2 separate regions of the Homo sapiens genome follow, and region 1 is linked to region 2. The links are contacts of gene promoters, found by promoter capture Hi-C in human tissues and cell types (Jung and others, 2019). All regions are on one chromosome and are shown on one strand. The core of a region is centred on a gene start or on the middle of the fragment in contact, and the rest is flanking DNA. Distances in the headings are between cores, read along the strand shown.

Region 1 (2,955 bases), core at 172-2,671, 63 kb after region 2:
GCCAGTGCCATTTAATCATGCATCCCTATGGAGAGATCCAATGAAGCCCTCAGATGACTGCCTTGACATCTTGTCTGGTTGACAATAAAACCAGAATTGGTTGACATCTCGTTTACAATCTCATAAGAAACTCTTAACTCAGAAGGACCCAGCTAAGCCAAGCTGTTCCCCAATTCCTAAGCCCCCAAAATGGTGAGACAGTAAATGTTTATTGTTGAAAGCAACTATGTTTTAAGGGAGTTTGTTAGGCAGCGATAACTAAATGTTGGCAAAGGGTATACTGAAATTGGACTTCTGATAGACTGCAGGCACAAATATACATTAATTACAAGCTTTAAAATAAGTTCCTGCTCTTTAACATTAAAATTGATAAAACTCTATTCTAAGAAAATACTTAAAACAGAAAACTGTTGGTTTTTTTTATATATAAGTCAAGGTCTCACTGTCATCTAGGCTGGAATGCAGTGGCGCAATCACAGCTCACTGCAGCCTCGACCTCCCAGGCTCAGGTAATCTCTCAGGCTCCCAAGTAGCTGGGACTACAGGGGTGCACCACTGCACCTAGCTAGTTTTTGTTCTTTTTTGTAGAGATGGGTTTTCACCATGTTTTCCAGGCTGGTCTTGAACTCCTGGGCTCAAGCTATCTGCCCATCTTGGCCTCCCAAAGTGCTAGGATTACAGGTGTAAGACATCATATCTGGCCAAAACAGAAAAACTATGTAGCAAGATGTACATTGCAATTTTGTTTACAATAGCCCCAAGTTAGAAAGAACCTAAATACCTCAGAACAGAGAAATAAAATGTATACACATGGGCAATTTAAAAGTCATTAAAAATCAGTTCTTATTATGAAATAAGAATTTTCTGTGTTATAAAGTTTTATGTAAAAGAATAGGAAATTATTAGAATACCCTGAGTTCATTTTTAAATATACATTAAAAACTACCAAGAAATAATACCAGTATGTTCACTATTTTCTACTTCTAGTATTATCTGTTTTTTAAATTAAAATTTTACTTTTTTGGAGACAGGGTCTCGCTCTGAGTGTGGTGGTGCAATCACAGTTCACTGCAGCCTCAAACTCCTGGACTCAAACAATCCTTCTGCCTCAACCTCCTAAACTCCTAGGACAACAGGTGTGCATCACCACATGCTGGCTAGTTATTTTATTTTTTGTAGAGATGGGGTCTTGCCATGTTACCCTGGCTGGTCTCGAACTCCTGGCCTCAAGCAGTCTGCCTGCCTGGGCCTCACAAAGCACTGGGATTATAGTCATGAGCCACCAAGTCCAACCTATTAACCTAATTTTTAATAAGCATATTTCTTTTCAAAAATGAAAAGGATTCCATAAACAAGATAATAAAAAAATACTTTAAGTAATGCTAAAAATTACATGAGTGCATTATTACTGAGTTCTTCCAAAAGTGAGGGGAAAAAAATCTCTAAAGAAAAAACTATTTTGTGAGTAGCACTCTGATGTACTTACCCAAAAGAAAATTTTCTGGCTTCCAAATAAATCTGGTTGACCAATTCTCGAGTTGGTGCTACAATAATACACTCTGGTTCCTGCAACTCTTTAAAACGACTGGCAGTTATTCCATCATGCATCATATGAGCCAAAATTGGTAGGAGAAAAGCCGCCTAGAAGTTAAGTTGCTTAGTTTACAAACTTATAGCACAACACTTTTATCCCTATGGAAAGCTAATCCTCATGTCCTTATAGCCTTTAGACTCTACTTCCATCTTACTGGTAAATTTAAGATGAGAAATGAAAACAACTTTCATTTCAAGGTGTTCTTAACATTTATGTCTTTATGCTCTTATTATACAATATAAAATTTGGTAAAATTAATCTAACCTATCAAAGTTTTTCAGTGTATTTTCAAAAGCATACCCACGAATTCTAAACAGATCAACAACATTAGCATATTTATAGAGGAATATGATAGATGTAATCGCTGCAAATCATTACAGTGAACAATTACTCTAAGTTAGTCCTTTTGAGGTCATAAAATTATCATTCAGAATGGATGACAAAAGTGGCCCACAGAGTAAAAACTTAGAAATCATCATCTGTATTACTGAACACATTACCCTTATTGAAGTTACATCTGGCAACAGAAATTTTGTGCTACAGTTTTCTCATTTAAGCAAATAAGACACTTGCTAAAATCCACCTCCAAAACCACGTTTAACACTCTCATCAGCTGCTATACAATACCTGTTTTTCCCTACAATTCTACTATGAAGGCTGATTAAGACTAAAATGGTATGACCTCATGGACTCTATGATCATAGAAATAAGAGTCTCATCTTATGGAGTCGTTAATTAACACACAAATCTCCCAGATTAGTCCTAAAACCAACTGGTTTCATCAGACTTCTTTTATAATTAGCATAACCTGAGGTCACTGAATACTAAGGAATCATGCACAATGCATAACTGTTTCTCATTCTTTAATCTTTTGACTTCGAGTGTACCAGCTATAATACAGAAATTACTTTCTCCCTCTCTGTTTTATAAGCTCTGCTTTGACTTTCAGTCACTTTGTTTAAGATACTACCATGTTTCAGAAAGAGCTGCACACAGAAAAGATTAAACATCTATGGACAGCAACACCACCCCAGGAATAGTTCAGAATTCTTTCTTCCGAAGTACACAAATCCTAATAAAAATCAGAAGCAAAACCATCAATACTTATGACAGGTAACTGAAACCATCTACAAACCTTCTACTCAAAAGAAGAAACCAAGTTACTAAGGAAGAACCAAAGCTCAAAAAACCTAACAGTTTGGACATGTGGGGAAAGACTTACAGTCTTCCCAGACCCTGTTTGAGCGCAAGCCATCAAATCTCGTCCTGCAAGTATGATAGGAATACTGTATTTTTGCACAGGAGTAAGCTTAGTATAACCAGCTTTAGCAATGTTGTTATTCAGTGTCTGACAGAGATTA
Region 2 (3,139 bases), core at 21-2,520:
TTTAAAACAAGCTATGCTTTCCAGCCCCACATTTTAATTTTTAACCCATTCCCCATCTTCCTTAGGCAATGTTCCACTAAGTAGGAGGAATAAGGGTGAGAAAGAGAGCTAGTCTTTTACCTAGAAGATTATAATTATGAGATATTTAAAATTCCAGCCAGGCGTGGTGGCTCACGCCTGTAATCCCAGCACTTTGGGAGGCTGAGGCAGGTGGATCACCTGATGTCAGGAGTTTGAGACCAGCCTGACCAACATGGCAAAACCCCATCTCTACTAAAAATACAAAAAAATTAGTCAGGCATGGTGGCAGGCACCTGTAATCCCAGCTACTCGGGAGGCTGAGGCAGGAGAATCGCTTGAACCCGGGAGGCAGAGGTTGCAGTGAGCCAAGATCGTGCCATTGTACTCCAACCTGGCGACAAGAGTGAAACTCTGTCTCAAAAAATAAATAAAATAAAATAAAATAAAATTCCATTATAATATACTATAGAGAAAAGCTAAATGCTAGCACAAAAATAGCAAGCATTTCTTGAATTTATTCAACCAATACTTAGTAAACACCTATTACATGCATAACAGCTCACTAAAGGTGTTGTGTATTAAATAGAATTCTGGTTAAGACAAGACCAATTGAGCATATACATTTATCTCTACTCTCTCAGGAAACTCCACAAAAATTATGGCAAAGATATAGAACCACAAGACAAAACAAATGGGAAGAGGCAACAGCAAATAAGAGATGTCAACAAATCTTTGGAAAAAGAGAAATGAATCAAGCCATAACTGAACTGGTAAAGATGAGAAAGCAGAAACCTAGAAATGCCTAATAAGGTTGCCAACAATAAGCAAACATAATTATGCCACGGAATCTCATACGGCTCAGGATTTGAGACACTAGGTAGGTAAAATCAACCCTCATTACTCACAGCTTCCTTATTTGTGAATTCACCTACTTGCTAGGAATTATTTGTAACCCCCCAAATCAATACTCACAATGTTTTGCGGACATTCACAGACACATGCCGTGGTGAAAAACTTGAGTTGCCTGATGCACATTCCCAGCTGAGGTGGAACAAGCTGACACTCTGCCTTCCTGTCTCAATTTTCATACTGCACACACATGTCTTTTCATGGTCTATTTAGTGCCATGCTGGTTATTACTATTTTTTTTTGCAATTTTTTGCCTTTTATGAGTGATTTTGCTGTTTCGAATGCCCCCCAAGCAGAGTGCTGGAGTGCTGTCTGGTGTTCCTAAGCAGAAGGAGGCTGTGCCTCATGGAGAAAATATGTGTGTTAAATAAGCTCTATTCAGGCATGAGTCATAGTACTGTTATTAGCCATGAGTTCAATGTTGATGAATCAACAATGTATATTAAATAAGGTGTCTTTAAACAGAAACACACACAAAACAAGGTTATGTATTGATTAGCTGACAAAAATGTTGTGACCAGAGGCTCACAGGCACCTAACTCTATATTTCCCCCACAGAGAATAATTCAGTATTTTCTTTTTTTCTTTTTTTTTTTCTTCTGAGACAGAGTTTCGCTCTTGTTGCTTAGGCTGGAGTGCAATTGCGCCATCTCAGCTCACCGCAACCTCCACCTCCCGGGTTGAAGTGATTCTCCTGCCTCAGGCCAGCCTCCCATGTAGCTGGGATTACAGGCATGCGCCACCAAGCCCAGCTGATTTTGTATTTTTAGTAGAGACGGGGTTTCTCCATGTTGTTCAGGCTGGTCTCAAACTCCTGACCTCAGGTGATCCACCTGCCTCGGCCTCCCAAAGTGCTGGGATTACAGGCATGAGCCACCACGCTCAGCAGTATTTTCTAATTCAGTGTTTGTGGCGATTTTATTGAACATAATTGCCAGGAATAATGAAGGAATAATGAGAATTGACTATACCTCTGAAACAAAAATCATAAGATTGGTTGAAAATCTGAAAAAGAAATAGACTACCTAATCCTAACCCCACAAAGCCAAATTCATTAAATTTCTCCCATCCCAACAGCAGATGGGGGGAAAAAACTTGAAAGAAAGGCAATGCAGAAAGCAGAATATTTTTTAAAAGAAATATTAGTTAAACCTTCATAGAAAATAAGAAAAAATGTTGTACCCACAAAATATGAATAGGATGCTATGATAAAGGCATAATTAGAGAACAAGAACTCTTGGAGATTCAAAATATGAGAGCTGAAGTCTAAAGACTAGAAAATAAAGTTGAGGAAATCTTCCAGAAGATAGAAGAAAAGACAAAGAGATGAAGAATAGCCAACATCTGACTACCAGCAGTACAGAAGCACAGAACAGAGGAATGGAGGGAAAGAAATAATGAGAGAAGTGATACAATAAAATTCCCAAGAATTGAGGAACATTTGTTTCCAGATTGAAAGGGCCCACTGTAAACAGCATAATAAATGAAAATAAATCTACACTGAAGTACAAAACAGTGAAGTTTCAGAATATCAAGAATAAACAGAAAAAAAATGTTTCCAGATAGGAAAAAAATAAGTCACATACAAAGGATCAAGGATGAGAATGGCTTTAGACTTAATAACAAAACCAGAAGTTAGAAAGCAATGGATCAATTCCTTTATAACTCTATTGGAAAATTATTTCTCACCTAGGATGCTCTACCCATCCAAATGATCCATCAGAAAGAAAGGTAAAACAACGTTCTTGAAACTGCATTTTCCAACATGCCAAGTTTCAAGAACTTTATCTCCCATGTGACCATTTTCGAGATGTTATTGAAAAAAGTGACTACAAAAACAAGAGCATAAGCCAAAACAAAAAGGAAAAATGGGCTCCCAAAAACAGCAAATTTCAAATAGAAGAGAGAGAATTCCAAGAATGGTGGCCAAGGGAGATCCCAAGATGATAAGAGTACAACAGGCTTGGAGAGCAACTAGCCCAAGTGAGTGGCAGACGCCAGGCTCAAGGAGGGATATTTCCAATGAAAAAATACATGGAGGGGACCCAATGGATCTGACAGATGTTGAAACTTGAAAAGTTTTGCAGCACTCTTAGAAAGTTTGGAGAAGGATGAGTAATCGGCTCAGTAAGTTAAGGAAACCAAAAAATGGCATAATTATTAATTCCAGGAAAAAGAAAATGTTATATAAGAAAATATATTTAAAGTC

What was found. The method cuts DNA at HindIII sites, captures the fragments that hold promoters and counts their contacts. A contact is called where the count stands out against the background at its distance.
Region 1: a contact is called between a fragment that was not itself captured here and the fragment with the promoter of IL31RA in region 2, in 3 of the 25 tissues and cell types used here (IMR-90 fibroblasts, stomach and thymus).

Annotation. Positions count from the first base shown.
Region 1 is chr5:55,786,532-55,789,486 of GRCh38, reverse strand. DDX4 (DEAD-box helicase 4) reads right to left here. Exons shown (of 22, transcript NM_024415.3): 14 at 2,817-2,955; 15 at 1,487-1,641. Among named protein-coding and RNA genes, the nearest start is that of DDX4, 50 kb to the right of the region's middle. The HindIII fragment of the contact is 6,379 bases long and covers 1-2,955 here.
Region 2 is chr5:55,849,488-55,852,626 of GRCh38, reverse strand. IL31RA (interleukin 31 receptor A) reads right to left here and starts at 1,270. Exons shown (of 15, transcript NM_139017.7): 1 at 994-1,270. The coding sequence starts at 1,056. The HindIII fragment of the contact is 16,782 bases long and covers 1-3,139 here.